Linked DNA regions of Homo sapiens: region 1 is linked to region 2. Evidence: promoter capture Hi-C in 16 types of primary human blood cells and fetal thymus (Javierre and others, 2016). All regions are on one chromosome and are shown on one strand. Each heading gives the region's core, a stretch centred on a gene start or on the middle of the fragment in contact. The rest is flanking DNA. Distances are from core to core; before and after follow the strand shown. Region 1 holds the start of DEFB129 (defensin beta 129). Region 2 holds the start of DEFB125 (defensin beta 125).

What was found. The method cuts DNA at HindIII sites, captures the fragments that hold promoters and counts their contacts. A CHiCAGO score of 5 or more calls a contact.
Region 1: a contact is called between the fragment with the promoter of DEFB129 here and the fragment with the promoter of DEFB125 in region 2, in 3 of 17 cell types (erythroblasts, endothelial precursors and megakaryocytes). The highest score is 9.0, in erythroblasts.

Annotation. Positions count from the first base shown.
Region 1 is chr20:225,596-229,759 of GRCh38, forward strand. DEFB129 (defensin beta 129) reads left to right here and starts at 1,663. Exons shown (of 2, transcript NM_080831.4): 1 at 1,663-1,751; 2 at 3,683-4,164. The coding sequence starts at 1,694. The HindIII fragment of the contact is 3,129 bases long and covers 1-2,967 here.
Region 2 is chr20:86,146-90,364 of GRCh38, forward strand. It overlaps DEFB125 (defensin beta 125), which reads left to right and starts at 1,527. Exons shown (of 2, transcript NM_153325.4): 1 at 1,527-1,622. The coding sequence starts at 1,565. The HindIII fragment of the contact is 5,466 bases long and covers 1-4,219 here.

The DNA.
Region 1 (4,164 bases), core at 413-2,912, 140 kb after region 2:
CAGGAAGGCGAGGAACCAGGGAAACTCTTGAAACTTGAACAATTAATAATATTCAGAGCCAATGAGCTTCAATATCTGAGTTTCTTAGGAAATGTCCCAAATTAGCAGGGGAAAGCATCTGATTGGTAGGCTTGGTTCTATTGTTACACCTGGATCAATCAGCTACGACCAAGGAATCTGAGCAGTACACTATAAAAATTGCTGCTTTTAATTATTTCAACCATTGTGGAAGATAGTGTGGCAATCCCTCAAAAACCTAAAGTCAGAAATACCATTTGACCTAGCAATCCTATTACTGGGTATATGCCCAAAGGAATATAAATGGTTCTATTATAAAGACACATGCATGCATATGTTCACTGCAGCGCTATTCACAATAACAAAGACATAGAATCAACCCAAATGCCCATCATTTGGCCATTTGGATAAAGAATGGATAAAGAAAATGTGGTACATATATACCACGGAATACTATGCAGCCATAAAAAAGAATGAGATCGTGTCCTTTGCAGGGACATGGATGGAGCTGGAGGCCATTATCCTTAGCAAATGAAGGCAGAAACAGAAAACCAAATACTGCATGTTCTCACTTATAGGTGGGAGCAAAATGATGAGAACACATGGACACACAGAGGGGAACAACACACACTGGAGCTTACTGGAGAGTGGAAGGTGGGAGGAGGGAGAGGATGAGGAAAAATAACTAATGGACACTAGGCTTAATAGCTGGGTGATGAAATAATCTATACAACCAACCCCCATGACACACATTACCTATGTAACAAACCAGCACATCCTGCACATATACCCGCGAAGTTAAAAAAGTTTTTTTTTAGTTGCTACTTTAAAAGGATGTGGGAATCATTGTAAACTCAAAAGTTAAAGATGTGCCAAGAGCTGTCTCCCACGAACTTGTTTAACAAACGTACTGACTTTGTATGTTGATCCAATACCCATGCTGGCCACTGGACATACCAGTACAAACAAGGCAGAATCTTCACTCTCCTCTAGCTCTTCTAATTCTCATGCACTAAGTGCCAACCTTAGCATAACTGGGCTGACAATCAGTGAATCAAATATCTAACTCTTATCCTACTCCAACGTTAAGAAAGAGACATGCGACTGGGTGCGGTGGCTCATGCCTGGAACCCCAGCACTTTGGGAGGCCAAGGTGGGCGGATCACTTGAGGTCAGGAGTTTGAGACCAGCCTGGCCAACATGGTGAAACCCCGTCTCTACTGAAAATACAAAAGTTAGCTGGGCATGGTGGTGCATGCCTGTAGTCCCAGATACTCTACTTGGGAGGCTGAGGCAGGAGGATTGCCTGAACCTGGGAGGCGGAGGTTGCAGTGAGTCGAGATCACGCCACTGCACTCCAGCCTGGGCAACAGAGTGAGACTCCATCTCAAAAAAGCAAAAGAGAGACACATGCAAAGGGCTTGCTCTTTCTTTCTCATCTTACCTATCTTATGTTTTCCTCCAGGATCAAGAGCAAGGAATTTGTTGCATAGAGGTGTTCAAGAAAGGGTGTTTTCAAACAGAGTCAGAAAAAACACAACTATACTGCGAGCAGCATACAAACCTGCTTTGGCTGCACTTCACTGCTCATGGCATAAGGCCACGAAGAGGCCAATAAAGGCTGGAGCTCAGGAGCATCAACCCAGATTCAAGGCTTCCTCTCTGGCACCCAACCATGAAGCTCCTTTTTCCTATCTTTGCCAGCCTCATGCTACAGTACCAGGTGAACACAGGTAATGTGGATTCCCAAGTTTAAGATGGGTAGATGAGAGGAACCAAGGATTTGGCTGCCCATGACAATGGAAACCCAAAGAGAGGAGACTGAAAGATTAGCTGTTCAAAAAGATGGCTAAAGAGCTTACCTATTGTATCAGTCATGCACTGATACATTCTCATAGGCCCCAACTGCCAGATTGTGTCCAGTGGAAACACCCAGGAAGCTACAGAGAAAGCAGGGTATTTTTTGTCTATTCAGAAACTATCCAAAATATAATGCTGCCTTCCTGCCCTGTATATGTCTATCATGCTAAGACTAAGCCCAGGTCTACCTCCTTTTAGCTCTATTTCTATCTTAAAAGCCCTTTTTTTTTAAAAAAAGTCCTGGGGTACTTGTGCAGGATGTGCGGTTTGTTACATAGGTAAATGTGTGTCATGGTTATTTGCTGCACCTACCAACCCATCGCCCAGGTATTAAGCCCAGGATGCATTAGCTATTTTTCCTGATGCTCTCCCTCCACCCAACAGGCCCCAGTGTGTGTTGTTCCCCTTCCTGTGAAACCACCTCTTGAAGCAAAGTTTCCTATCAGTTTGTGCTTGGTGTAGAAAGGAGGAAGTTCTTCCCTCATGCTCAAAAAAAAACCCTTTCAAGATCAAGTAAACAGGCCTGTGTTCTCCATCTTGAATTCTTTCAGGTTTTCCAGAGCCTTTATCGCTTCTCTCAGACTTTGTCTTCCTGAAAACCCCCAAACTACCATAAGGGCATCTAGGAATGCATTATAGCAAAAGGCTAAGCCAGGGGATTAACCATTGTTTTTGGAAAAGAAAGGAGAAGCACTGAGATTTGTTTCAGAATACAAGAATCATCCAGCTATTTGAAAAAATTAGCAAAGGGTTTCGGGGCAGGGAAAGTGGAAGTGTCAAAGATGCTTCTAATGTTTTTATCTTCTAATGTTTTTATCTTGGGACCCTAGGAAAAGGGTAGTACCATAAGCAAGTATGGCTGTGTCATCTTGGGTAAAGTCACTTAACCACTTTGAACTTCAATTTCACATGAGTATAATGGGGTTAATCAATGCAGCTGATTCCAATATAAGAATTTTTCTGTTTCCCGTTTGATGAGAAAACAATGTGGAAATGTATGCAAATATGCTTTGAAAATTAGCAGATGCTACATAAATCTCTTGTAATTTAGGGAAAATCATTGGGTTATTAAGATGAACAAGGGAGAAAAGCTTTCTTGATTCAGAAAAAAGAAACACGAGACATTAGGATGGAAAAGTCATTCAGCAGATAAAGATAAGGTACTAAGCCGAGCAGGAAATTTAGAATTATAGATAACAATACAGAAGTTACCTTGGTGGATATGAGGTTAAGGCTAGGATAATGAATGAGACTTCTGAGAGATAGAGTGTCCAAAGAGGCTAGAAGAGATAGAACACCATGCTTCAGGAATCACAGATCTAGTGATTGTTGAGAAGAGAGAAGTCATGGGCTACTGAGTTTGGTGAAAAGATAAGACTCCTGAAAATTCTATTGATTCTCTTTTGAACTTCTTTCTTAAATTAGTTTTATGATGGACTTGGCTCTCATTGGTATTTCCCAAGATTATGGAGATGGGATAGTGATGTCTGACAAGTACCTAAGATGCTAAGTTGAAGGTCTAAAATTCCATCCTAAAAGCAAATAATTACTCTATCATCTACGTGCCCTTTGCTTCTTAAAGTTACTCAAGGAAGGCAGACTAAACAGGAAATTTACTTTGGATTCAAGAGGGGCATAGAGACGCTCTCAGCCTGCCCATTTGCCTTCATCAACATTCCTAAACACTGGGCTTAAAATGTAGTATGAGTAAACTCTCTCTTAGTCTATCCATCTCCCACTAGCAGTTTTAACATCATCTCTAGTTATTAACCTTGGCTCAATGGCTTTCTCTTTTTTTATACAGAATTTATTGGCTTGAGACGCTGTTTAATGGGTTTGGGGAGATGCAGGGATCACTGCAATGTGGATGAAAAAGAGATACAGAAATGCAAGATGAAAAAATGTTGTGTTGGACCAAAAGTGGTTAAATTGATTAAAAACTACCTGCAATATGGAACACCAAATGTACTTAATGAAGACGTCCAAGAAATGCTAAAACCTGCCAAGAATTCTAGTGCTGTGATACAAAGAAAACATATTTTATCTGTTCTCCCCCAAATCAAAAGCACTAGCTTTTTTGCTAATACCAACTTTGTCATCATTCCAAATGCCACCCCTATGAACTCTGCCACCATCAGCACTATGACCCCAGGACAGATCACATACACTGCTACTTCTACCAAGAGTAACACCAAAGAAAGCAGAGATTCTGCCACTGCCTCGCCACCACCAGCACCACCTCCACCAAACATACTGCCAACACCATCACTGGAGCTAGAGGAAGCA
Region 2 (4,219 bases), core at 277-2,776:
TGTAGATGTGTGGACTTGTTTCTGTGTTCTCTATTCTTTTCCATTGCTCTATGTGTCTGTTTTTATACTAGTACCATGCTGTTTTGGTTACTATAGCTTTGTAGTATAATTTGAAGTGAGGTAATGTGATTCCTCTAGTTTTGTTCTTTTTGCTTAGGATGGCTTTGGCCATCCTGCATTTTTAACCCTTTTCCCATTTTCACCCAGAATACTCGCTGGTGGCACTTGCAGCTGCAGGGTTTACCCTGAGATAACTTTGCCACAAAATATCTCGCCTTTATTATTATTTTCACATCGTTCTAATATATCGACTTTGAAAACACAAATCATCATTCTATTTATAGCATCTTGTTGTTAGCAGTGGTATTTCCATTTACAAAATATAGAAATTCTTGATCGCTGAAAATGTCAAATTCTAGAAAGCATAGCATTCCCATGTTAACATTGTTCTCAAACAGTTTTGGGCCAAAGAGTCATTTAATGAATCCGGTTTTTTCCAAAATAGATGATTCTGATTATTCAGATGATTCTGATGTTAGTTCTGTTTAAAAATAATTCCAAGAACAGTTTGTATATTTTATTTTCACACTGAACATCAGTCAGCCTCCAGAGCATGTTAATGTAAAATTAAATGAACATGGGCAGTGAGCTGCAGTTTTTTTTCTAAACAGTGCAGCTGTTTAGAAAATTTTTTTAAAATTTTCCTGATTTCCTTGGTATTAAACATATGTGGGAGAAATACAGCTCAGCAAACTCTTCCAGGAGATAAAATGCTGATCACTCCTACTGGGCAATTTCACAAATGTCTCCTATATTTTTCTCCTTTGGTAGTGGGGATGGGGGGCATAATGTTACATTGGGCCTCTCTCCTCTCTCTCTTTCTCTCTCCCTCTCCTTTTAAAATGTTTCCTCTCTCTCAATATTTCATTTCTTATTTGTATTTCTGAATGAGGGAAAAGAGTTGATGGGACAGCGGAACGGGAAAAAGAAGAGCACCAATAAAACCTGTTTTCCTGTTTTCACTATTTTCATTCCAAATTCCTTCTGTCTCATAATTGATGGAATCTTATGAACTTATTAGTTAAAAAGTGTCTTTCTTGTTTCACAGGAATTCATATCGGGGTGATCACTCAGAAGAAAAGGTGAATACCGGATGTTGTAAGCTATTGAACTGCCACAAGTGATATCTTTACACACCATTCTGCTGTCATTGGGTATGTACAAAGTGCTGCATACAGACAGAGGAGAAGGACAATTGAGCCCATCTAAAGTTAACAAAAACTTCCTCTTGGGGCTGTTTCTTTCCATCAGACCTTACAGTTCTACGGGATAATAGCTTATCTCATAAGGCCTCAGCTTTCTTTAATAATTTCTAGAAGCAGACGTTATTGTGTCATGCACACTCAGTGTTGCAAATTAATGGTCTGGTGATCTGGGTGGCATGGCATTTTCCCCTTCTCTGGTTCATCACCCATGATAGACCAGTAAAGGTGACCACTTAAATTCCTTGCTGTGCAGTGTTCTGTATTCCTCAGGACACAGAGCTTCCTCTCTCCCAGGAGCCATGAATATCCTGATGCTGACCTTCATTATCTGTGGGTTGCTAACTCGGGTGACCAAAGGTAATGGAACCCTATAAAGCAGAGATGATGACTAGGATGAGTTGTTGCCCTTGGGCTCCCCTGGTATCATGATGGGAAGAGAGGGAATCTGCAGGAAAAATCTGGGCCAACAAAGAGCAGCAGAATGCTCTTATTTTGGCAGCTCCATGCCCCTAGTCTCTGAGAATCTTTCTGTTAGGGGCATCTAGCAAGCTGGGATGTCCTCTGAGGCATTTCTCCAAAGACAAGAATTTCCTTAATGCTCTGAGCCACCCTATCTGTCTCTCTACATAACTATCCAATGTTAGTTCAGCCTCACTTCACTTCCATTTCGATTATTCTGTTGTATCTATTTCATTGTTGTGTCCTATTAGTTCTCCTACCATCTTGAATTCTTCTTTGCCCGGAGGGTACCTTCAGAGGGAGGCCCTCACTTTCATGTTCTTAGATATGGTGAACAAGTCCATTGACAGTTTGTAGATTCTGTAGCACTATCATATGGAAGAGACAATATATATGTTTGGGGTAGAAGTGGAAATAAGTGGAGTGAAGACAGGATAGACAGACTAGTGACCAATGGGGAGCTTCTAATTTTAGATGAATAGGAACAGTCTGTTTCCACTATTTAATAATGCTACTTTTGAAAATTGTTAACTTTTTATTAAAAAATAATACTTGCAATTGACTTATGTATCAAGCAATCGATGGATTTATAGGGTTTAAGGAAAAGAAAAATGTTTGTCTGTCCAAGAATACCAGTTCTTCAGTCTTCCCCTTCAGAATCAATCAATGTTACCAATTTCTTATATATCCTAGCAAATACAAATATATTTATATTTGCATGTGTATACCTTTTAGATTTTTAAAAAATGCAATTGCAAATGCACCATGTGAATTGTTCTGCAATGTACTAGCAATATATTAGAGACATCTTATCCATACATAAACCTAGTTCATTATTTTTAATCGATAAGTAAAACTTTGAGGAGGAGCAGATGAATTGCCTCACATTAATTACTCCGCTACTGATGAAAAATAGGTCTTTAATTATCAAAAACAATTCAGCAAGAAAAATTTGTAAACAAATGTATGTCTTTTCATTTATGACTGGACACGTGGACACACACACACACACACACACACACACAGTCAAACCACCTACCAGAAAAGCTGAACTATTCTTCTCTCCTATCACCAGTTGCAAGAGTGTCAGCTTCCCACACCCTCATCAGTCCTTTTTGTTTTTTCTACTACATTCAGTTTTCTACTACATTCAGTTTTACAGTCTAATATGTGAAAATGATGTCCTGATGTTTGAATTCATGACACTTTAGTTATAAATGAGTTTGAACATCCAGTCCATTAGATTTCTAAACTTTCTTAATTATCTTTATATACTAAGAAATTTGGCTTTTGTTAAATTTGGAGGTGTTATATGTTGCCTAGAAAGATGCTATTCATGTCTATTAAATGGTTATAACTGTGCCTATGATCTGTTATGTCTTGATTCACATGTTGATGTAATGTGAGTTACAGAATTAATATCTACATTCATTTCTGATTATAAACTGCTGTATTTGTTGAAAATTTGGAAATTTTGAAATTGTAAAGAAGTAAAAAAATTGTAAAGAAGTTAAAAGAGACAAAATATTTTTGATCTATTGTTCTTCCTCAGTTTTCTTATTTGAATAAAAATGTATAGCATACTTATAAATTTTCTATTATACTATTAGTATTTTCCCATTTACTATTTTCAAAAACTGTATTTCCAATGACTGTATAAATTTTATAGAATGGATACTGTTTAAATTACTTAGCCAAATTGTTTTTGCATAAATAAGTGCATTTACATTTTATAGACAAGGATGGCTAGTATAACCTTTCTTATACATAAATCATTCAGCATAAAATTCCTGGAGATGTACTTTTTTCTGTCTGCTTCATGTGTTATCAATTTTTGAATACTTGCCAAGTCCTAAAAATGAAATATTATATATAAATATTTAATTTTTATTTATGTCTGTGAGTAATGGGGAAGTCGAACTTCAAATACATGCTTAATGTATATTTAACTTTTCTACAAATTGTCTATGTCTCTCTTTCTCTTTTATTTTGGAGAGGTAGTTTTCATTTCTTTTGATTTAGAGATTTTCATTTTTGTGTTCTCTTATAGGTTTTGTTTTGAAATTTAGCTATTTAGTCTCTCTGGGCTTTATATTATGTGTTTTCAAGTGAGATAGCACCTGATGGCTTGTGAAGCAACTTTTTACCAAGCCAAGCTATCAGTGGACTGGTATCCATAGATATATTTTAAGTTGATGCTAGCTGATTATATATCTGGTATGTTTTAGAAAGAACTCCACACATGGGATAATGTTTTGGCTAGATGGCTCCCCTACTTAGAAACATACAATTGCTAGTCATATTTCTAATTTTAGGATTTCGAGATACTGGTGATGAAGATCACATGTCCTAACAACATAATAGTTCCAGACTGAAGTTCTTTGAAAAAAATGACTGTTGTCACTTTAGAAAAAAAAAATTATGAATTATTCCCAATTGCCATCATTCTACTGCTAAAACCAAATTCTTGGAATTATCTATGATTTTTCTATATC